Regions from separate parts of the Homo sapiens genome. Here all the other regions are linked to region 1. Evidence: promoter capture Hi-C in human tissues and cell types (Jung and others, 2019). All regions are on one chromosome and are shown on one strand. Each heading gives the region's core, a stretch centred on a gene start or on the middle of the fragment in contact. The rest is flanking DNA. Distances are from core to core; before and after follow the strand shown. Region 1 holds the start of CYP2A6 (cytochrome P450 family 2 subfamily A member 6). Region 2 overlaps NUMBL (NUMB like endocytic adaptor protein). Region 3 overlaps CYP2B6 (cytochrome P450 family 2 subfamily B member 6).

Region 1 (2,997 bases), core at 280-2,779:
CAGCTCCCTCACTTACTCCCTGTGTGACCTCACTCAAGAGGATTTATGGAGTCTAGATCTGCTCATCTTCAAAATGAGGATGATCATGATGAACCAACCTCATTGTTACAAAGATTCAACCAGATCATACACACCTAGACTTAATCTTCCCGTATACGACCATGCTCACCAAAGGGTAACTGTCCTGTTTACTAAGGAAGAATTTCCCTGAGGGAAGGACAGGAGGGCTACTCATCCCTTCTCCACTCACACCCACCCCAGGATCTGCCTCTGTGCCTAATACTGGAGTTTACCCCAATCTCTTCTGCCACTGTTCCCTCTGCCTGCTAATAGTAGTAGCCCCTGACAAAGCAGGAATCATTCTTAAAGGAGACTTAACTCACCCTCGAATGTGATCTTCTCTTCCCAAACACTCCCTTTCCACTGGCAGGAAAACCAAATCCAGAAAGGGGAACTAAGTACACAGAGCAGGAGAGATGGGAGTTCAGGGCCACTCACACATGTCCCCTGCCCACTGTCTGTTTTCTGTCCTCTGTAGATCTTTATATAAAATGAGAAACATAAACAACAATCATAATATTAATAGGGATGATACAATCAATCTAGTGGGTTTCCCTGAGGATCTGGGTTGGAAACCAGCGGACAACCCTTGGGACACTTGAGATTTTTCCACCATTTGGGGGTTGTTATTACTATTTCTCCAGACCTAGCCAATCCCTCTGCCAACCGCTAACTCCAGGTACTCTTCTCCAGGTGTGGGGAAAGTTCCCCTGAAATATGGCTCTGGTCTTCCTCCCCTTCCCAATCAGAGATGGGCAGTGGAGGTTCTATGGCACCCATCCTGGCCTCACTCTGAGGTTCCAATGAGGATTCTGGGCATCAAGAGACAGCTCTGGGCAAAAGCAAAATCAAGTCAGCCCCTGGACCCAGTGCTGGGCTGCTGGGCTTTCTGGGAGAACCCGCTGGGCTTGCTACACACTCCTCCTCCCAGAAACTCCACACCCACAGCCCTGGGTCTTCCTAGCCCCGAGACTTTCAAGTCCATATGCCTGGAATCCCCCTTCCTGAGACCCTTAACCCTGCATCCTCCACAACAGAAGACCCCTAAATGCACAGCCACACTTTGTCTTACCCTAATAAAACCCAGACCTTTGGATTCCTCTCCCCTGGAACCCCCAGATCCACAACTTTGGGGTGCATTCTCACTCTCAGACCCCAAATCCAAAGCCCAAGTGCTCCCCTATGCAAATATTCCAAACTCCTCAGTTCTACAGCTTATCTGTTGCCCCCTCCTAAATCCACAGCCCTGCGGCACCCCTCCTGAAGTACCACAGATTTAGTCTGGAGGCCCCCTCTCTGTTCAGCTGCCCTGGGGTCCCCTTATCCTCCCTTGCTGGCTGTGTCCCAAGCTAGGCAGGATTCATGGTGGGGCATGTAGTTGGGAGGTGAAATGAGGTAATTATGTAATCAGCCAAAGTCCATCCCTCTTTTTCAGGCAGTATAAAGGCAAACCACCCCAGCCGTCACCATCTATCATCCCACTACCACCATGCTGGCCTCAGGGATGCTTCTGGTGGCCTTGCTGGTCTGCCTGACTGTAATGGTCTTGATGTCTGTTTGGCAGCAGAGGAAGAGCAAGGGGAAGCTGCCTCCGGGACCCACCCCATTGCCCTTCATTGGAAACTACCTGCAGCTGAACACAGAGCAGATGTACAACTCCCTCATGAAGGTGTCCCAAGGCAGGGAGATGGGTGGCACGGGGTGGGGGCTGCCTAGTTGGCTGGGGCTTTGTGGCAGGGGGTTGACCAGTGTGGACCAGAGTCTTAGGAAATGGAGTTTTGGAGTTTCAGCATCAGAAAGACAGGATCTTGGGATGTCCAGCTCCCTGACTGTGAGAACCTGGGTGCGAAGCATCCCAGCACATGACATCTCGGTGCTGGGCCCCATTCAGAGTGGAGGCTTCTCCCTCTAACCACTCCCACCCACCTCCATCAGATCAGTGAGCGCTATGGCCCCGTGTTCACCATTCACTTGGGGCCCCGGCGGGTCGTGGTGCTGTGTGGACATGATGCCGTCAGGGAGGCTCTGGTGGACCAGGCTGAGGAGTTCAGCGGGCGAGGCGAGCAAGCCACCTTCGACTGGGTCTTCAAAGGCTATGGTGAGGGGGTGCCCAAGAGGGGGAAGGTGGCCAGGTGGACACGAAGGTCTCAGTGTTCCCAGCCTTCTCCCTGACTCTCCTGCCAACTGGAGGCTAAGGCAGAGTCCCCAGTCTGGTCTTCCCTCCCCATCTCCCTTCATTGTGGCCTCTCCATGTGTATCCCTCACCTGTCTCCAGCGTCCCTGTCCTGATTCCTCCCTGCCTCTCTCTGCCCCACCTCCTTATTCTCTCTCACTGGAGTCTCCTCTTTCCCCTCTCTCTCCATCTCTAAGGACATCCTGGGTTTCTGTTTTCCAGCCCTGGTTCTCTGTCTTCATTTGTCTTTTTGTCCCTCTTAGCTTCTGGGCTTCTCTGTGTTTCTCATCTCTCCGCATCCCTTTCTCACTTCTTCCTCTGTCTTAGGATTTCAGGGTATTCCTACTTCCACATCTTCAGCCTCCATCTCCTGGTAACAGTCTCTCTTCCTTCCAGACCCTCTCTGTTTCTATCTCAATATTTTTCTCTCTTCTCCAGCTCAGCTTAAGAATCTTTCACCATTTTTATTTCCTCCTCCCAGATCTCCCCATATCTCACTTCCCCTCCCTCCATCCTCTTCCTCCATCACTCTCTTTCTCTCCCCACTTCCTTCCCTTCCTCCATGGAGTGTCCCCTTATCCCTCTGTTTCTATGTGCATCTCTCTGTCTGGCCTTTCTGTTTCTTTTCTGATTGTCTTATTCTTTAAACCTGGTCTCTCTCTCTCTCTCTCTCTCTCTCTCTCTCTCTCTCTCTCTCCTCTCTCTCTTCTCTCTCTCTCTCCTCTCTCTCTTCTCTCTCTCTCTCTCTCTCTCTCCTCTCTCTC
Region 2 (2,997 bases), core at 230-2,729, 180 kb after region 1:
TTTGTGCCCGCCTACCCGGGCTTGGGCTACCCACCGATGCCCCGGGTGCCCGTGGTGGGCATCACACCCTCACAGATGGTGGCAAACGCCTTCTGCTCAGCCGCCCAGCTCCAGCCTCAGCCTGCCACTCTGCTTGGGAAAGCTGGGGCCTTCCCGCCCCCTGCCATACCCAGTGCCCCTGGGAGCCAGGCCCGCCCTCGCCCCAATGGGGCCCCCTGGCCCCCTGAGCCAGCGCCTGCCCCAGCTCCAGAGTTGGACCCCTTTGAGGCCCAGTGGGCGGCATTAGAAGGCAAAGCCACTGTAGAGAAACCCTCCAACCCCTTTTCTGGCGACCTGCAAAAGACATTCGAGATTGAACTGTAGCCCGAGCCGCCCCACCCACTCCATCATCTCCAGGTGCCCCACGCCTGGGGGTGGAGGCACAACCTCTCCCCTAACCCTGCTCCCTGGGGCTGCGCCCCTCAACACCCTCTCAACACCCCCCTCCCTCAACCACCCCGACAACCACTACAGAACCAACATTGTGACGCCCAGGTTGCAACAGGATGGAATTCAGGGACGGACCCAGCCTGGCTAAGGGAACCATTTCACTGCCGGACTTAGGCTGGCAATGCCCCCTTCCCCAACCCCAGACACAGGGGTTGGCCACAATCCCACTGAATGCCCTTGGTTCACACTCCATTTCCCAGTTTCTGTTGACCCCCACCTTCCAGTGTTGGACAGGATGGAGGGGGGACACTTGCTTAGGGGCTCTCCTGGGCCCCACACCAGTGCCCACCCCAAATCTGGTCGTCTCCTCCCCCCATGCACAGCACAAGCTAAGGGCTGCCCTCTGCCCACACGCTGCGTTCACTGCCAATGCTGTACTCACCTCCATCACCCTCCAACTTTGGGGCCCATGTCTTCCTTGGGCCAAGGTCTCATGGGGGCTAGGGCCAAGTTGGGGGCCCAGGAGGCGGGGAGGGAGGAGGAGGAGAAGATGCGCAGTTACCTCATGTCGGTGCCCGCTGGGGAGGGGTCCGGGAAGAAGGGGAAGGGGTGCCTGGCGGGTACTTTTCTATCTTTTATTTCCAGATTTTTTTTGTATCTAAACTTGAAGATTTGTATTATACAAGGACAGCCAATAAAGGAAGAATATAATGGTGCCCCTCGGGAAACGAGGGTGTGTGTAGGGCGCTGGTGAGGCCCTAGAACCTTTCCTCCTGAGTCATGGACTGAAACAGAGTCAGAAGGATGTCCCTGAGTGATAACCTCTGAGTCATAGCGTGGTAACAGGTACCACTGACTCAGCACCTGCCAGGCGGGTATTAAAGGAGCCAAAATTAATCACCCCATTTCTATTCCTTACAGAGTTAGAATCAAGGAATAAAAAACAAATATTATGAACTGCTGGCTGGGCACAGTGGCTCACGCCTGTAATCCCAGCACTTTGGGAGGTCGAGGCAGGCAGATCACTTAAGGTCAGGAGTTCGAGACCAGCCTGGCCGCCATGGAGAAACCCAGTCTCTACCAAAAATTCAAAAATTAGCCGGGCGTGGTGGCAGGCGCCTGTAATTCCAGGAGGCTGAGGCACAAGAATCGCTTGAACCCAGGCAGCAGAGGTTGCAGTGACCTGAGGTCACACCATTGCACTCCTGCCTGGGCAACAGAATGAGACTCTGTCTCAAAAAAAAAAAACAAAAAAAAAAAAACTACTTCTAATTAGCTCAATATTAATATTTTAACAAGTTGGGTTGGTAACAGTATATCTTTGCCCATGCTGGCAAATTCTTGTTTTGTCAGCATTTTCCATAACTCTGGCCAAAGTGTCACCTGATGTGGCAACGTTTTACAGTCTTGCTATTGTTTCTTGAGTCCTTTAATCTATAAGATGTATTTTTAAAAATATATAACATATAAATTTTGTTTCGTTATAGCTCTTTAAAATGAGGTGGTTGATTTTGTGCAGTCCAATATTCTATTCCCACTGGATAGATGGGGAAGTTGAGTCAGTGGCCCACGGTGATACATTTGATTAGTGTGGGCCAAAGTCAAAGGCAGTCGTGAAACCATCAGGCTGAGGCCGGGCACTGAGGTGGCTCTCACCTGTAAGCCCAGCACTTCGGGAGGCCAAGGTGGGAGGATCGCTTGAGCCCAGGAGTTCGAGGCCAGCCTGGGCAACATAATGAGACCCTGTCTCTACAAAATAATTTTAAAATTAGGTGGGCGTGGTGGCATACGCCTGTAGTCCCAGCTGCTGGAGAGGTTGAGGTGGGAGGATTGCTTGAGCCTGGGAGGTCCAGGCTGCAGTGGTCCGTGATGCAGTCACTGCACTCCAGCCTGTGAGGGTGACAGCGTGAGACCCTGTCTAAAAAAGCAGACAAAACAAAAGGCTGGGCGTGGTGGCTCATGCCTTTAATCCCAGCACTTTGGGAAGCCGAGGCAAGTGGATTACCTGAGGTTGGGAGTTCGAGACTAGCCTGGCCAACATGGTGAAACTCCGTCTCTACTAAAAATACAAAACTTAGCCAGGCGTGGTGGTGGGTGCCTGTAATCTCAGCTACTTGGGAAGCTGAGGCAGGACAATCGCTTGAACCTGGGAGGCCAAGGTTGCAGTGAGCCAAGATCACGCCACTGCACTCCAGCCTGGGCAACAGAGCGAGACTCTGTCTCAAAAACAAAAAAGCATCAGGCTGTGAGGGAACAAGCCTAGGGGTCTGCCCTCTATAGCGTTTCCATTACATCCCATTAACCTGCTTGTGGACTCCAGGACTAGGAGACCTAAGACAGCTCTGTCGGGGTATGACGTTGGGGGAATGTCCCAGGCAGGGAGCAGAGGACCCTGCCAGAGATAAGCCACACTCTCACCTCCAAGCTTTTGCATTTGTCATTCTTTCTGCCTAGAACACCCTTTCCTTCATGGTGACACAGCACTTCCCAGAAGAATGCTACTCATTCTTTAGGACTCCGTTCAAATACCTTTTGTTAGAAGGTGACCCTCTTCCAAGGCCCTGAGCC
Region 3 (2,997 bases), core at 176-2,675, 150 kb before region 1:
CCAAAGTTGCACAGCTACTCATTACTGAGGCCAGGATTTAGACCCAGGCAACACAGCTATAGAGTCCATGCAGCCGGTTCTCACTCTGCACCTCCTCTCAGGCCCCACCTCTGACTCTGGGAGTGAGTACAGTTAAATCCCAGGGATAGGGGCTGGGCAGAGTAGGTGTTCAATCAATTGCTTATATAAATTAAAAAGCCCTGGGTGGGCACAGGGGCCCATACCTCTAAACCCAGCACTTCGGGAGCCTGATTCAAAAGGATCAGGAATTCAAGACCAGCCTGGGCAACATAAGGAGACCCTGTCTCTACAAAAAAAAAAAAAAAAAAATGTAGCTAGACATGGTGGCACATGCCTGTAGTCCCAGTTGAAATAGTCCAGGGGCTGAAGTGGGAGGATCACATGGGCCCAGGAGTTTGAGGCTGCAGTGAGCTATGATCGTGCCACTGCACTCCAGCCTGGGTACAGAGTGAGACCCCGTCTCTAATTTAAAACAAATAAAAAACCATCTTTCCACCCCTACCTATTACTCCCCCTTAATCTCTTCTTTCCACATCTAGGGCTCTCCAGTCTTCTGGGAATTATTCTGTACTTGTTAAGTGATACCTGTATACACCAGGCTCAGCACTGGCCCCAGCTGGAGGGAGAGTGGTCTGTAAGGACCCAAGAACATCAGGTTAGTGCAGCCTCTCTCTGGTTCTCACTTGCCTGTCTTCTCTCATTCCTCTGCAGACCTTTTCCTAAGCTTTGTCTGTCTGTCTCTCTAATTTTCTCTGCCTCAATTTCTCTTTGCCTTTGTTTCTTTCTGTCTCTCTGTGTGTATATTTGTCTCCCCCCTGCCGTTCTTTATTTTATTATTATTATTATTATTTTTGGAGACAGAGTCTCACTCTATCATGCAGACTGGAGTGCAGTAGTGTGATCTTAGCTCACGGCAACCTCCATTTCCCAGGCTCAATCAATTCTCCTGTCTCAGCCTCCTGAGTAGCTGGGATTAAAGGCACGTGCTACCAAGCCTGGCTAATTTTTGTATTTTTAGCACAGATGGGGTTTCACCATGTTGGCCAGGCTGGTTTTGAACTGCTGGCCTCAAATGATCCGCCAGCCTCAGCCTCCCAAAGTGCTGGGATTACAGGCATGAGCCCCATACCCAACCTATATTTTTTTGTTTTGGTCCCTCCATCTGTCTCTTTCCTCCTGCCTGTGTCACTGTTTCTTCCTGTCCTTCTCTTCAGTCTTCTTGTCCCCGTTTCCCTATAGCTCCTGGGTCTCTACCTCCCCATGCAGCCTCTGCATTTACATCCCAGAGTCTCTTGAGAAATTTTGATAAGAGAGATGGTAAACACCTGGCATGAATGAGATGGAGGTGCTAGCCAGAGACCCTTCACCTACATGTCTCACAGACACCAAGTTATGGAGAACTCAAAAATAACCTAGTGATTCTTTGATGACCCCTCCAGCTGCACCCGGGCAGAACACCCCACCTGGCCTGTCTGCTCACTGCCAGCTCATCAGCACTTCACCCAGGGCAAGGAAAACACAGTTCATTATTTGTTAAATGTCTGTAGTTTTTTTCTTTTACTTAACTTCCGTTTTTGACTTTGACAGACACAATTGATCCATGAAATTATATGTCTTTGAGGGTTTGTTTGTTTGTTTGAGACAGGATCTTGCTCTGTTGTCCAGGCTGGAGTGCAGTGGTACAATCACAGCTCACTGCAACCTCAACCTCCTGGGCTCAAGTGATCCTGTAGTCCCACCTTAGCCTCCTGAGTAGCTGGGACTACAGGCACACACCACCATGCGTGGCTCACTTCTTTTCTATATTGTGTAGAGACAGGATCTCATTATGTTGCCCAGGCTGTTCTCCAACTCTTGGCCTCAAGCAATCCTCCTGCCTGAGCTTCCCAAAGTACTGGGATTACAGGTGAGAGTCATCACATCCAGCCTCTTTGAGTAACTCTTGGACATTATACACCTGGCATCTCTCTCTTTCCCTGGCTCTCTGTGTTTCTCTCCTGCCCATCCCCATCCCTCTCTATTCCCCTGTCTCTCTCCCTCTCTGTCTCTATCCCTCTGTCTGATGGTGTCTCCAGTTTCGTCTGTCTCTGTCTGTGCCCTTATATACCTCTCTGTCTTTCTATTCCCGTGCACCTGCATCTCTCAGTGTTTCATTGTCTTTCTTTCCTATTCATCCCCCAGGACTCACCCTTGGATTTCCGAAGCTCCTCTATCAGACACTGAGCCTCCTCCTGAATCCGCTCCTCCACACTCCGCTTTCCCATCCCGAAGTCCCTCATAGTGGTCACAGAGAATCGCCGAAGCACCTTCCAGCGGTTTCCATTGGCAAAGATCACACCTGGGGTGCAGGGGAGGTGTGGGTTGGTTGTAGAAGAAGTTGGAAGAAGGCTCTGAGTCCTTCTTCCTCCCATATACTCCCTTCCCTGATGCACCCCCCACCCGCCCCCTCCCAGTGCCTCTGAGGCTCTCACCATATCCCCGGAAGAATGGGTCGACCATGGCGATTTTTCCCCGGCCAGAGAAGGCCTCAGCCTTGTCCACAAGGGCCTCCCGTATGGCCTCTACTCCACACAGCATGACCACGGGCCTCGGTCCCAGGTGTACCGTGAAGACGTCCCCATATTTCTCTCGGAACTGCCAATCACATCCACACCAGGGGTGGCTGTTAGTCAGCATACACCTCATTTGTAAAACTATCAAAATACTTACATACCAGATTGGTAATTAGCCCCTCCCCAACATCCGCCTCCCCAGGCTGCCCTTTCCCCTGCTGGGACCCAGCAATTAAGGGTTAATGGTTAACGCTGTCCAAGGGAGAGAATACAGTCATGGGTTCTTAGTTTCCGTTTCTGGTTGGGCCAGTAAAGCCCCTTCCTCATCCTTCCTTTCTGTGTATCACTGGAGACAGAAACTGAAAACCATGGCTTCAGGCTGCTAAAAAGCTAAAACAAAACAAAACAGAACAACAACAAAATA

Evidence for each region. The method cuts DNA at HindIII sites, captures the fragments that hold promoters and counts their contacts. A contact is called where the count stands out against the background at its distance.
Region 2: a contact is called between a fragment that was not itself captured here and the fragment with the promoter of CYP2A6 in region 1, in 1 of the 25 tissues and cell types used here (spleen).
Region 3: a contact is called between a fragment that was not itself captured here and the fragment with the promoter of CYP2A6 in region 1, in 2 of the 25 tissues and cell types used here (H1 embryonic stem cells and mesenchymal stem cells).

The regions. Positions count from the first base shown.
Region 1 is chr19:40,848,979-40,851,975 of GRCh38, reverse strand. CYP2A6 (cytochrome P450 family 2 subfamily A member 6) reads left to right here and starts at 1,529. Exons shown (of 9, transcript NM_000762.6): 1 at 1,529-1,729; 2 at 1,996-2,158. The coding sequence starts at 1,550. RefSeq lists an enhancer at 333-361 and promoters at 1,414-1,550, 531-1,550. The HindIII fragment of the contact is 10,166 bases long and covers 1-2,997 here.
Region 2 is chr19:40,664,834-40,667,830 of GRCh38, reverse strand. NUMBL (NUMB like endocytic adaptor protein) reads left to right here. Exons shown (of 10, transcript NM_004756.5): 10 at 1-1,926. The coding sequence ends at 363. Among named protein-coding and RNA genes, the nearest start is that of NUMBL, 24 kb to the left of the region's middle. The HindIII fragment of the contact is 6,620 bases long and covers 1-2,997 here.
Region 3 is chr19:41,003,659-41,006,655 of GRCh38, reverse strand. It overlaps CYP2B6 (cytochrome P450 family 2 subfamily B member 6), which reads right to left. Exons shown (of 9, transcript NM_000767.5): 2 at 2,493-2,655; 3 at 2,210-2,359. Among named protein-coding and RNA genes, the nearest start is that of CYP2B6, 14 kb to the right of the region's middle. The HindIII fragment of the contact is 5,944 bases long and covers 1-2,997 here.